3 separate regions of the Homo sapiens genome follow, and all the other regions are linked to region 1. Evidence: promoter capture Hi-C in 16 types of primary human blood cells and fetal thymus (Javierre and others, 2016). All regions are on one chromosome and are shown on one strand. The core of a region is centred on a gene start or on the middle of the fragment in contact, and the rest is flanking DNA. Distances in the headings are between cores, read along the strand shown.

Region 1 (4,394 bases), core at 1,352-3,851:
ACCTTGTTAGCCAGGATGGTCTCGATCTCCTGACCTCATGATCCACCCGCCTCGGCCTCCCAAAGTGCTGGGATTACAGGCGTGAGCCACCGCGCCCGGCCCAAAGGCTAACTTTTAAAGAGTGTTGTCTGCATCTACGTTCACATCATGCAAGAGTCATTATTCTGGCCGGACACCAGTGGATCATGCTTGTAATCCCAACACTTCGGGAGGCCAAGGCGGGTGGATCACGAGGTCAGGAGATCGAGACCATCCTGACCAACATGGTGAAACCCTGTCTCTACTAAAAATAGAAAAATTAGCTGGGCGTGGTGGCAGGCGCCTATAGTCCCAGCTACTCAGGAGGTTGAGGCAGGAGAATCGCTTGAACCTGGGAGGCGGAGGTTGCAGTGAGCCAAGATGATGCCACTGCACTCCATCCAGCCTGGGTGACAGAGCAAGCCTCCATCTTAAAAAAAAAAAAAAAAAGTCATTATTCTGTCCTTGCCTTTTTCAGGTCCCCACCTTCTCCCCAGGTCTCATGCACTCGATCTCTCTCACTCCTTTCTGCTTTACAGACCCACAGCCAGGTCCTGCCAATCACTCCCCTCCTTGTTGGAAGTCAGCTACAGGTGAACCAGCAGGGAGAGGCCACTGCCTGCTCACAATCAGCTCATTATCTAATTGAGGAAAAAGGCACAAGCTCACTCAAAAGCAAAATCCAAAGGACCAACAGGAGTTGGGGGCTTCAGGCTTTTTCTTCCCATTCAGGATAGGGTCAATGTCACTTCAAAAGGTATAATTACAAAAGGCTAGAGACCACGCCTTCAGCTTTAAGAGAATAGCAGTACCTTCCATCCTCCAGAAAGCTTTTGGACTTGTGGACTATCCCTATTTAAGACGGCTCATTGCATCAAGGAAACACAGTTTCATTCAATAAACATCAGTCATTTCCTTCAAATTCCCACCGGAAAGCTACTGACATTGTAAACCTTTAGGATTTGAAAGACGCTAAAGTTTAAAGTCGAATCATAAATACTGTTCCAATCCAATCACTCAGGCCCAGAGCTGGTGGGAGTTCTGGATTGCATTTCCGGCTTCACCAGTATCTCTGTAACTTAGCAGCAAGCTACACCTCCACCAGCCTCGGCTTCCTCTTAGGAGAAATGAGAAAACTGGACCCAATCAGTGTTTCCCAAAAGCATGGTGGGCGTCCAATGCAAGATGTCACAGTGCAAGAGAGGACTCTGTGTGCATGCCAATTAACATGTTTTAGTTATTAGTTTACTCTGTCTGGTGAGTAATGTTAGTTTTCCTAATAAATAAGATTTCCTTTTAAAATAAATGCATCCAAATATTTTTAAAAATGAGTCACTTTCACAAAAACCTATTTAGTAAATAAGAGTTCAGGTGATTCTAGCAGCCGTGGCAAAAATAACTGATCTAGAGGCCTGGCGTGGCGTGAAATCCCTGAGTACAGGGGGAGGAAGAGAGCGAAGGCGGCTGGAGTTCCTCGCAAAGAAGCAAGCCCCGGGCACCAGGGTCCGCAGTGACCAGCCGCCGGTCCTCCACGCTTCCAGAGGAGACGATTTGGAACTGACCCGGGAGGGCCAAGAAACACCTTCCGAGTACCAGGCTAAACCCCGCCAGGGAGAGAGACCGGGACGAAGGTCCCAGGCTAGTGCGACACCGCAGGTCGGGGTTCCCTGGTTGGAGGAGCGCGGTGGGCTGGGAGGGGCGCGTTGGTGCGCACTGGAACAGGGGTCCCCGGCTTGAGCAGCGCGGTGAGACAGAGTTCCCGCGCTGGAGGGGCGCGGTGAGACAGAGGTCCTGGGCTGGAGAGGTGCGTTGGGGCGCACTGGAACCGGGGTCCCGGGCTTGAGTGGCGCGGTGGGACAGAGTTCCCGGGCTGGAGGGGCGCAGTGGGACAGAAGATCCGGGCTAGAGGGGCGCGGTGGGACGGAGCTCCCGGGATGGACGGGCGCAGTGGGACAAGGGTCCCGGACTGGAGGGGCGCGTTGGGGAGCATTGGAACAGGGGTCCTGAGCAGGAGGGGCGAGGTGGGCTGGGAGGGGCGCGGTAGGGCGCACTGGAACAGGGGTCCTGGGCTGGAAAGACACGTTGGAACAAGGGTCCCGGGCTTGGGCGGCGCGGTGAGACGGAGTTCCCGGGCTGGAGGGGCGCGGTGGGACAGGGGATCCGGGCTGGAGGGGCGCGGCGAGACCGGGGTCCCAGGCTGGAAAGGTGCAAGTCGAGGCTGGAGGACCGGCGGGAGGGAACCGGGAACCCGGCGGAGCTAAGGGGCGCAGAGTGGGGGTGGGGCCGTGCTGCCGGGGGAGCCCCCTCACGCAGGAAGGACCGGGGCCGCGGACCCCACCGCCCCCACACCCCGTCGTCGCGGAGTTCGGGCCGCCCCGGCTGCGCCCGGGCCCTACCTGTCCTCGCTGGCCGTGATCACGCCGTCCTCCTTGGGGATGAGCAGCGCGGCCGTGACGGCGTCCTGGTGCCCCTCGATCTTGCTCAGCAGCACCGGGCGGCTGCTCTGCGGCCTGGAGTGGATTTCGGCCGCCATGTTCGCGCGGCGACTGCTGCGGCCTCCTCGGCAGGCAGCCCATCAGCTGACGCCTGGGCGGGCGGGGGACGCGCCGGTTTCCCTTCGGCTGCTGGGGCCTCTTGGGCGCCGCGCCGCCGTAAGCCCCCGAGTGCTGCCGCCGCACCGCCCGTATTGCCTGGGGATGCCGCGCAAGCTGAAAGTCTGTGGCTGGGAGAGGATGCCACGGGGCGCCTGCGGAGAAATGGGGAAAGTAAGGAAGGTTTAAAAGTAAAGCCATTCACCCAGGAATAAATTGAGCACCTGGAGGGGACAAGGAATTGTCCCCCAAACCAGAGATTTCAGAAATTACAATACTACATTTCATCCATTTGAAGAAGCCATTGTTTGAAAGGCACACACTTTCAGAAATGTTAAAATGTGAAAAAATATAGTGCATCTTAGAATCTTTGAACTACAATAGATAGCACTGAGTGGTGACCATATACCAGGCATTAACTCAGTGTCTTTGCATCTCATTTAATACTGATAATTTTAAGAGATGAAATAGATGCTCTTGTATTCCCATTTTAGAGATGAGAAAACAACCAGAGAAGTTTGATCACTACCTTAAGGTTGCACAGCTATGAGAGGGAGAAAAGCAGCCCTTGATCTCCAGGAGCTGCCTGGTACTATCAGCTGAGCTTTGGTGTTGCTAGGAAGTGTTTGCTTCCTGTGGAACATAAACATCAGACGAGGCCACTCCATAATCACATCTAAACACGGCCAAAATATGAGCGATGTACAAGCCACAGAAATTACCAAACATCCCCCTATCCTGGCTAATATGAGTGACTCTTATTTCTTTATTAATTATAATGTTAACCGCTATCTAGTCTTCCTCCATTTAGATAAGATTTATTAAGATATGCAACCTTAGAATTATACGCATTTCCTGACAACATCCAGTCCACAGGAGAGCCTCTCTTCCTTAAGCTCTCCCAGGTCACCTAACACAAACACAAATCCTATAATAAAACTGTCCGAACATCCCTTTACCCAGACACCTCACCATTCCCAATGGTGTGTCTTCTCCCTCCAACAAGCAATCAACCCCATTTGTTCCTGGTGGTTTTTGGCTAGAGGTCATTGACAACCAGTAAGTTCAAGAGCCAAAATTTGGACTCAGGAAGTCAATGACTCCAAACTTCTGCCCCACTATATTATTCTGACACCTGAATTGCAGAATTGCATTAGAACCGTACTATCCACATGACTATAGAGCACTTGAAATGTGGCTTGTCCAAACTGAGATGTAGTACAAGTGCAAAATACTACAAGATTTTATAGACTTAGCACAAAACAAAAAAGATGTAATATAGTTCATCAATAATTGTTACAATGATTACATGTTGAAATGATACTATTTTGGATATATTGAGTTAGATACTATTAAAATTAATATGACCTGCTTATTTTTTTAAGGTAGCTAATAAAAACTTTAAATTATGGATGTGAATCAGATGGTACTTCTATGTACAGTGATTTACTAGAACTTTCTTTTTGTTTTTGTTTTGTTTTGTTTTAGTTTTTTGAGACGAACTCACTCCGTCACCCAGGCTGGAGTGCAGTGGTGCGATCTCGGTTTACGGCAACCTCCGCCTCCCAGGTTAAAGGGATTCACCTGTCTCAGCTTCCCGAGTAGCTGGGATTACAAGCACCTACCACCATGCCTGGCTAATTTTGTATTTTTACTAGAGACAGGGTTTCACCATGTTGACCAGGCTGGTCTCAAACTTCTGCCCTCAAATCATCTGCCCACCTCAGCCTCCCAAAATGCTGGGATTACGGGCAGGAGCCACCATTGTACTAATACTTTCTCATG
Region 2 (4,312 bases), core at 162-2,661, 2.8 Mb after region 1:
ATAGAGCCCTCCAAATAATTTTTAAGTGAATAGGGACATGATGATTGGAGAAGATTAGATAAATTATAGTTGACTACTTAGCAATTACTCAATATTCCAGTGGCCTTTAACTAACTGCTAAATGTTTATAAATGTCTTTTATTATTTTGCTAGCTCACTTAGATCATATCCTTCCTAAAAGTAAAAATCATGACTTTCTGTGCAAAACATAATTTGTTTGCCACATTACATATATTCAAAAAAAAAAACGTCTCTTTGATCATTTCAACAAACGTGAGAAAACTTCTCAAGATTAAGTGATATTGTTCAGCAATATGACCTAAATATGTCAGGGAGGATCAGAGAACATGCATTAAAGTATTCTTTGGTCAACAATAAAAGTGGAGTGCAAGGATACATATGTAATATGCAATATTTATAAAACTTGGGATGGTAAAAAGGAATACAATGAATGCAATCCAACTCAGCTTACTCAATAAAACATTCCTGGTAGAGTAATAAAACCACAAAATCTCTACTCTGCTTTAAGAAAACTGCAACTAGAATCATAGTCTGACCCATGTATTCAACTCTACTGCCATTATCAATGGAAAATACAGAAAAAGGGTCAAAAAGCCTTTTCAACATAAATACATCTTTTTCAAAGCTCTATTATTCAAAGATCACTGGCTCACTGAATAAGCACAAATAACATTTATCCAACCAAATTTATTTCAACAAATAGATTATAGCAGAGCCTGCTGCAAGAATACTATTAAAATGGAAAGTGTTCCTTTTATCATACATGACAGTACCTTATACTTGTCCAATCCATCTTCTCCCTTTTTGTGAATTAAGAATGGGAGAGGTACTACCATTTCCAAAGTATAAGACAAAAATAGAAGCAAATAGATGATACTTACTAACCTATCTTCTTAAAAAGCTTTACAATAAATTTTTGTAACTATGTCATATTAGTTTGAAATTAGTATGCAATTATTATATCATACTAACGTTAAAATGTAATTTTAAGTTAAAATTCAATATGATTACACTTTCTGAACATGTTTCAATAACATTTTAAAGACAGCTCTCAAAGTCTGCTGCATAGCTATGGACTAATAAGGTAACGAAGGAATAAATCAGTTACATAATTATAAATGTGGTAGAGGCAGGATCTATTATTTTACATGCAAAAAAATACTAGTATGAAAAAAAGTTACAGGATCTTTAGTGTGAAACTGGCTTCAAGCATGATTCACAAGAAGCTATTTTCCTTGAATACAATTTCCAGTAACTTTGTAACATGAGGAAATAATTGAGGAAATGGCTTTCTTTAAAACAAAACAAAACCTTAAAACTGTGAAATGTTCCAATATACTAAATTACCAACCCATCAAAATAAAAGGAACCATTTATATACTATTCAGCTAAGACACATATCTGATTATAGTGAGAGGATTGGAAAAGCATAAGTCCGTGGAGTTTCTTAAGAGGCAACAGACTATTTTAATGACTTGTGAAATCCACATGGAGGGACAAAAAAGGTCGGAGCTTCTGAATATATTGGCAACTCAACAGTCAAGATAACACAGGGTTGGAAAAGCAGTGTTGGCTCAACTAACTAATCAAAAACCCTAAAGCACAAAAAATCTGGACAACACTAATTTTGCCAGCAAGAGAAATATTGAGTTGTTTCATACACCTAAGAGAGAAAAATAAAGCTAAAGAAAAAATTGTGGAAGGCCTCCTATAGTCCCCAGTTGGCTTCTCAAATTTCCTTACCATTCACTTAAATGGCTGTCTCACTGAAGAACACTGATGGTACAAATGAGACACATTATCCACAAACACACCACCCCTGAAAAAGAGGTGATTTCCAACAGGATGCATGTGTTAATTTCCACAGTGTGCACTGGTTAAAGCTTACTCTATAGTGTGGGGAGGGGTGGGATGTTTCTGAGAGCTGACCTTAGGATGTAGGAACTAGCAGGTGCCTTGCATTCCCACACACATTTTATTTTTAAAAAGGCGGAAGGAAGAGGAGCATAATTCAGTCTAGAGATGGTTCCAAAAACTTAGGCTGGTCGATCAGGAGGGTTTGTCTTAGGGTTTGTTAAAACTCGAAAATGCCCCCTTGAAGCAAGAAAAGTTAATGTCAGGCCTGAATCAAACAATGTTTTCCTTCCAGGCCCCAGTCTGTCCATAAAGAATGTCTGATCCAAAGGCTAGAAATGGACAGAACAGGCTATTCTCATGCTTTATCATGACCCTGTCAACAGCTTCTTCGGAAAGAATCCTCATTGCAACTGACCCATTAAAGAGTATCAGTCATTTTCTCCACAACATTCCTATGTTTAGAGCTGCAAAGGAGGTTAGAATAATTTAGAACAAAATCCTCAAGTTACTGATGAAGAAATAGGTCCAGAGAAATTAAGTGACTTGCCCAAGGTCACTCTGCTAGTGAAGGGCACAGGCTGTGTTGGAGCCCAAGATCTCTGGCTCCCAAGAACTGCTTTTTCCATTGCATCATTTAAGATAGCACAAAGCTATTTTCCTGGAATTGTGATTTAAAAAAAAAAAAAAGGTGGCATGCCCTTTGGATCCCAAGTCTCTTCCTGTAGGGCAATGCTGGAGATAGTATTTATTGAGGGGGAACTCAGAGAAATGACTACAATATATGCAACATTTTATGGATTTATTTTTACTATAAAAAGATACCTAAACAATTGCAAACATTAAGCAAATTATTAGCTGCTCAAACTTTTCTGGAACAACAGAGAAACTCTCTCCCACTGCTCAGTAGCAGTTTTGGGTCATAACATTTGCACCTGCTTGGTACGTTTCCACCTGTGATGTTTCACTTGGCCCCTCAGAAAAAGCGCTGCCCTGGGATCTTATGATTCAGTGATGCAAGAGGGATGTTGGCTGGTGAGAAATGCTTATTTGAGAGGGAAGGAGGAGGAGGAGAAAATACTCCCATAGCACTTTTCTTTCTTATTTTCCTTATTTTAGAAAGGCCAAATCTGAACACATTTTCCATCCCATGTAGTAATATATCTCACATAATTTTGGTTACTGGAGGGTACACAACACAAATCTAGCAAGCTTTCAAAATCGATGTGCCCAGCCTAAATTGACGGGCTGTCACTGGGACTGTCAATGATGGAAAAATGAATCTGTGTCTGAGAACGCCACAGCATTTCCTCCAAGCCTTTAAGGAACACACTACCCAAACCCTTGTCACACCGGGTTCTCAGGATCTGCAAGCTGCAGTCCCGTCTTTCATTTCGCTGTGAGCTCCCTCACAGCCCAGGAGGATGCGTTTTCCCAGCTCTTACCTAGCTCTGGTGCTTTGCAGTAAAGTGTATGGAGCCTAGGGCACTTTCAAGCCAAAGGAATTCCCCCTCCCCCCATGACCCAAAACGATGGCATCCGCAGCACTCGCAGGTCTCTCTCCCTCCCTTGGTTGAGGGGGGCGGGCAGGAATCGCGGGCCAACCCCACCTGGCCCGCAGGCCCGCAGCCACGTGCGGGACTCCCTCCTGCTCGCGGATCTCGAGACCGGAAGACGAAGGAACGTGGCCTCGTAGTAAACCGTAGTAAAGAGAGAAGGGAAACAAAATGGGGCTCGTCACATGGTTACGGCCTGGATTTTTCTCAATTAAAAATAAGAGCAAGTGTGTGTTTCCGGCCCCCGTCCGTGGGCTGGTTGGACTTTTTCATTCTTAGGATTCTGATCCAAATGCAAGAATACAGCTGAGGGCACAACGTCCTCAGTCGGCGGGCGCGGTGCAGAGGGGGCCTGCGGCTCGGCCTGCGGGCACCCGCGGGAAAGAGGTGCCAGGCAGGGTGGCAGAAAGCGGCCCAGGGACGCCCGCCCGCCACCACCGCCAGGGGACCCGCGGAGAGCCCCGCCCCGCGCCCGCCGCGGCTCAGCCGTTTCACATGCTGATTGGCTGTGGTGGGGGCCAATCAGCGCCCAACCGCCCCGCCCGCCCGGGACCCAGAGCCGCGCGGCTGTGCCCGAGGGCGGGGCCTCGCCCGCCAGCGCCGACCACGCGGCCCGGGAAGGGGCCCCACCGCCCTGGATGACCCGAGACGGGCGGGGGCGGGAGACCCGAGGGCGGTCTGGCTGCAGATTCCCCCACCCCGGGCGAAAGGGGGCTCGGAAGAGGGAGGAGAAGGAATGCAGGAAGCGGAGGTGACCCGGAAAAGGGAAAGTGCCAGGGCCGAGAGGGTTTGCGCCAGCCAAAAAGGCCACAGGGCTGGGGAAAGGGGAGGGAGGGGAGGCAACCTTGGAGGTACGGAATCCTTGACATCACAAAAAAGGA
Region 3 (4,732 bases), core at 551-3,050, 2.9 Mb after region 1:
GAAGGATTCTTCAGCGGGGTAGATATGAGCTGTAGCGCATGGATATTGGGACTGCTGCTTAGAGGGTATTTTGTTTACCTCGGGATTCTCAATTCTGTGTAGTCAAGGTTGTTGGATGCAGGATATTCAGTTAAAAGTTAAAGCAGTGCATACTAATGCTATTGTGGTTGTAGGATTTTTAAGAATAGCATTAGTATTTATGTTGAAGAGTAGTTTTTAATTCTTTGGCCTTCTGATCTCTTCAGCTTTGTTTGGAGACAGTCTCTTTCTGCCACCCAGGCTGGAGTGCAATGGTGCAATCTTGGATCACTGTAACCGCTGCCTCCAGGGTTCAAACGATTCTCCTGCCTCAGCTTCCCAGGTAGCTGGGATTACAGGCGTCTGCCACCACGCCCAGCTAATTTTTGTATTTTTAGTAGAGACGGTTTCACCACGTTTGCCAAGCTGGTCCCGAACTCCTGACCTCAGGTAATCCACCTGCCTCGTCTTCAGTTTAGTTATACCTTCTTTGACCCAGAATTTGGTAAAGACCAGAGGTAAGCACTAGTTTTAGAGTTGAGAATTATTGTAACATAGTGACTTGCAAGCGAAAGCCAAGGCTGAATATGTTTCTGTCCTTATCTTTGTTTCCCATATGTCGTACAACTCCACGGTAGCAAAGATCTCATGTCTACTCTAGATACCTCCATTTTCAGGAAGGATCACAGGAGTGCCCTCAACCTGCTGTGTTTTTTAGATGCAGTATTTTCTTACAACTTTATCTCTTTCAGGGGTCCATTGTAGGGGGAGAAAGAAATATTCAGGATTTAAAGCAGCTGCTCTAAAGGCTACATTCACTGCAATGTTGAGAAGGTCAGTGCCAAACCGTGGCCTACACATGTCGTTTTGATGAGAGCACGCTGCTCCCAAGGCTATACCATGGCTCCTGGATATTGAGAGAGTTTTCAGATAAACATAAGTCACTTTGAATGGATTATTCTGGAAATAATTTCGTTAGCTCTGCCACCAAATTGGCACTGCCCCATCATGAAATGTTTATTTTTCGAAGGCATTAAATATTTTTTTTTGTTCTCCTCATCGGAGAGGCAGATCGCTATCTGTGGTTTTAGGTCAGACAAGCCCTGCTCTGAATCTTGCCTCTGCTACTTAGTGATTGTGTACATTAGACAAATTAACATCCTCCCCACTTGAATTTCTGTAAAGTAGGAGTCATAGGATGTGCTACTTCAGGCCATTGAATTAAATGAAATAACGCATAAAACACGTCCACCTTGTTTTAGGCACAGAGGCTCAGTAAATGTTGTGTGTCGGACAAAGGGAAAAAAGGTATTTGTTGTCTCAAACCTAACTTTATGCCATTCATTTTATAATATTTTTATAAATGAGGTAATTTTATTACCTAACTGCACTGCTTTTCTTTTTAACCATAAAATGCTGAAATGGAGTCAAAGCTTTCATATTATTGTGAATGAGAAAAAACAAACACTTGAAAAAAGTTGAAACTTTAACGTGAAAAAACACCATCTTCAGTTTTATCACTGTAACAGAGCAACTTGTAGAAATTGTTTTGGATGTTTACAGCAAGGTAAACATCCAAAGGTCAGGGGATGAGTAATAAAGTATCTTCTGTTAGTTAATGGGGACAGTCAGCTAGAGAAGGGGACACTGTTACAGGAAATGAGACCTCGTTGAAGGTATGCATCAAAGGATGAGAAAATGCTGTTAGCCCTGAAATTGCTAATATTTTTTTAAAACACGAATTCTTAATAGCAAAGTGAAAAGTTTTACATTACATTTTTTAATAAGGGATAACAAAATCTCTTACATGTATTTCTGTGTGTTTATATTGTATATGAATGTATGAGTGCAGAAAATACTTGACTCACACTAGGTCATAATTTTATTTGTCAGTATATTGGAATATGGGGGTGGGGACCAAGTATAAAAGGAAATTTTCTATATATGTAAAATTAGATACGTACATGTATATGTAAATGTTCTTTAAAAAAACTATTAAAAACGGAAGCGATTCTTTAAAAGGTAGATTTCCTTTTATGTTGCAGTCATAGCCACGTAAGCAATGGACCTCATATTTTTTTTCAACAGGGAGCCTCTTAAACAGAATCTTACCTGTAAAACTCAGGAGCCGAGAAGCTTTAAGAACAGTGAGGTTGAAGGGCACAGGCTCTTGGTCCTTGGCAGCGATATTAGGAGGCGTGCCTAGGGAACCTCGGATTCCGGGGAGCTGGACGTGAAACTCTGTGGTGGAATAGAAATCCTCAGGGCATGAGCTATACCTAAAACGTAATGGTATTAAGAATTCTGGTAAGTGGGATTCACAAACTTGTTCTGAAGACAATTTCCAAGGTTGTCAGCCATGTCACCATATGGATGGCTTCTCATGCAGAGGAGTGAGTGATTATTGAGAAAAAAAAAAACCCACCTGACCCGTATTTTACAAAGTAGGATTCTGTGCACTTTTTTGAGGAATTAGCTTTTTAAAAAATCCCTCCAAGTTGTGACAGCTGTATCGCTATTAAAAGCTATTTGGCATTTTAACTGACTGTTGTTTAGGATTACAAATGACTCGGGGAAAAAGAAACAAGGAGTCAAAGGAAGTGTATTACTTGTGTTTATAGCCCTATCATTTTTTTGTTGTATGGAAGCAACTACTCTATATTTATATAGTAAAGTGTTTTTTTAGAGTTAATTTTTAGTTAATAATGAGCCTTCATAAGAAAAATAATTTCAAATGCTAAGTATTTGTTAGATTGTTACTAATAGTGGTAGTTAGTGATATTACATTGTCTTTTTCACACATTGAAGAGGGTTTCCTGGTGACAGCTGGAGCTTGGGGGAGGGGGAGTTACTTTCAATCAACCAGCTGCTTTGTGGCAATATCATGATGGTGATATTTCAAAGCCCATAGATAACTTTGGCTGTTTCAGGAAAGAAAATCTATCAAATTTCTGGGAAGCAACAGATAATGGGCAAGAGACCTTTGGGATCTACGTGATGGCCAACTAACAATGTGTGCATTCCGGTTTGCATGTTGGGGTTATTTACCATCTAGTTTCTTGGACATTGTTACATGCACCTCATAATTACACAGTAATAGAATCTAGCTCTAAGGGCAGGAAAATCTCATTAAGGAGAGGAAAGGAGAGTGAAAAACCTTGGTGATGCACTGCACGCTTTAACATAATACCCTATTTCATTTATTCTTGATGGTGATTCTAGAATGTAAGTGGAATTTTTTGCCATCTATGGATAAAGAAACAGAAGCTCTACAGTACTGGTTGTATGATTTGCCCAAGGCCACATACTAGTACATGATGGCCTCCATATTTGACCCCAGATCTTCTGGCATTAGCTCTAGGAATGTTGTCATTACACCAACAGCTGTTTCTCCAGGTGTTAACTTGCTTATGCATTTTTAATGCAAAGTCACAATATCAGGATAGTAATGAATGAAATAAATATAAATGTTACTTACAATGACTTCAGTTTTATAAATAATATATAGGGGTGTGTGTGTGGACTTGTGTGTATGTGTGTTTTGGCAACTACATATAATTTGGGTTTTTTTTTTCTTAAGTAAAAAGTCTCTTGGGCAATACTGTGAAAAAAATTTCACTACGTTTTTTAAAAATATATTACTGATACCAGCAATATTGCAATTATGTGTGTTGCAATGAATCAGTTGTGATTCTAAATTTGAACAAACCTAGGAATGAATTTTGTGCATACTGCCCATGTAGTCGCCCTCATCCTAACATATTGAAGGAAATTTCTTGTTTTTTTCTTTCAAGGCGTATTCATTTTTCATTCATTTATTTATTTTTTTTGAGACAGAGTCTCACTCTGTTACCTAGATTGGAGTGCAGTGGTGTGATCTTGACTCACTGCAGCCGGGACCTCCTGGGCTCAGTTGATCCTCCCACCTCAGCCTCCCTAGTAGCTGGGACTACAGACATGTGCCACCACACCCAGCTAATTTTTTTTTCTTCAGCTTTTAAGTTCAAGGGTACGTGTGTAGGATGTGCAGGTTTGTTACATAGGTAAACATGTGCCATGGTGGTTTGCTGCACAGATCATCCTGTCACCTAGGTATTAAGCCCCACATCCATTAGCTATTGTTCCTCCCTGCCTACCACACCTCCCTGACAGGCCCCAGTGTGTGGTGGCTCCCTGCTCTGTGTCCATGTGTTCTCATCATTTAGCTCCCAGTTATAAGTGAGAACATGCAGTGTTTGGTTTTCTGTTCCCATGTCAGTTTGCTGAGGATAATGGCTTCTAGCTTTATCCATGTCCCTGCAAAGGACATGATTTCATTCCTTTGTGTGGCTGCATAATATTTCATATGTACCACATCTTCTTTATCCATCTATCATTGATGGGCATTTAGGTCAATTCCATGTTTTTGCTATTGTGAATAGTGCCACATTTAACATATGCATGCATGTATCTTTATAATAGAATGATTTCTATTCCTTTGGGTATATACCCAGTAATGGCAATGCTGGGTCTAATGGTATTTCTACCTCTAGGTCTTTGAGGAATCGCCAGTCTGTCTTACACAGTGGTTGAACTAACTTATACTTCCACCAACAGTGTAGTAGCATTCTGTTTTCCCTGCAACCTCGCCAGCATGTGTTGTTTTTTGACTTTTTAATAATAGCCATTCTGACTGGCATGAGATAGTATCTCATTGTGGTTTTGATTTGCATTT

Evidence for each region. The method cuts DNA at HindIII sites, captures the fragments that hold promoters and counts their contacts. A CHiCAGO score of 5 or more calls a contact.
Region 2: a fragment that was not itself captured here is called in contact with the fragment with the promoter of WDFY1 in region 1 in 1 of 17 cell types (naive CD4 T cells); the score reaches 6.2 in naive CD4 T cells.
Region 3: a contact is called between a fragment that was not itself captured here and the fragment with the promoter of WDFY1 in region 1, in 4 of 17 cell types (naive CD8 T cells, non-activated CD4 T cells, total CD4 T cells and 1 more). The highest score is 14.6, in naive CD8 T cells.

What each region holds. Positions count from the first base shown.
Region 1 is chr2:223,942,734-223,947,127 of GRCh38, forward strand. It overlaps WDFY1 (WD repeat and FYVE domain containing 1), which reads right to left and starts at 2,602. Exons shown (of 12, transcript NM_020830.5): 1 at 2,415-2,602. The coding sequence starts at 2,551. It overlaps LOC124907989 (a long non-coding RNA gene), which reads left to right and starts at 491. Exons shown (of 2, transcript XR_007088100.1): 1 at 491-1,674. RefSeq lists enhancers at 1,414-1,533, 1,544-1,603 and a silencer at 2,174-2,353. The HindIII fragment of the contact is 5,306 bases long and covers 847-4,394 here.
Region 2 is chr2:226,787,783-226,792,094 of GRCh38, forward strand. The region is part of intron 1 of IRS1 (insulin receptor substrate 1); the gene reads right to left. Among named protein-coding and RNA genes, the nearest start is that of IRS1, 9.9 kb to the right of the region's middle. RefSeq lists a silencer at 3,617-4,306. The HindIII fragment of the contact is 982 bases long and covers 921-1,902 here.
Region 3 is chr2:226,837,303-226,842,034 of GRCh38, forward strand. It overlaps RHBDD1 (rhomboid domain containing 1), which reads left to right. Exons shown (of 9, transcript NM_001167608.3): 2 at 771-852; 3 at 2,107-2,325. Among named protein-coding and RNA genes, the nearest start is that of RHBDD1, 3.6 kb to the left of the region's middle. The HindIII fragment of the contact is 703 bases long and covers 1,450-2,152 here.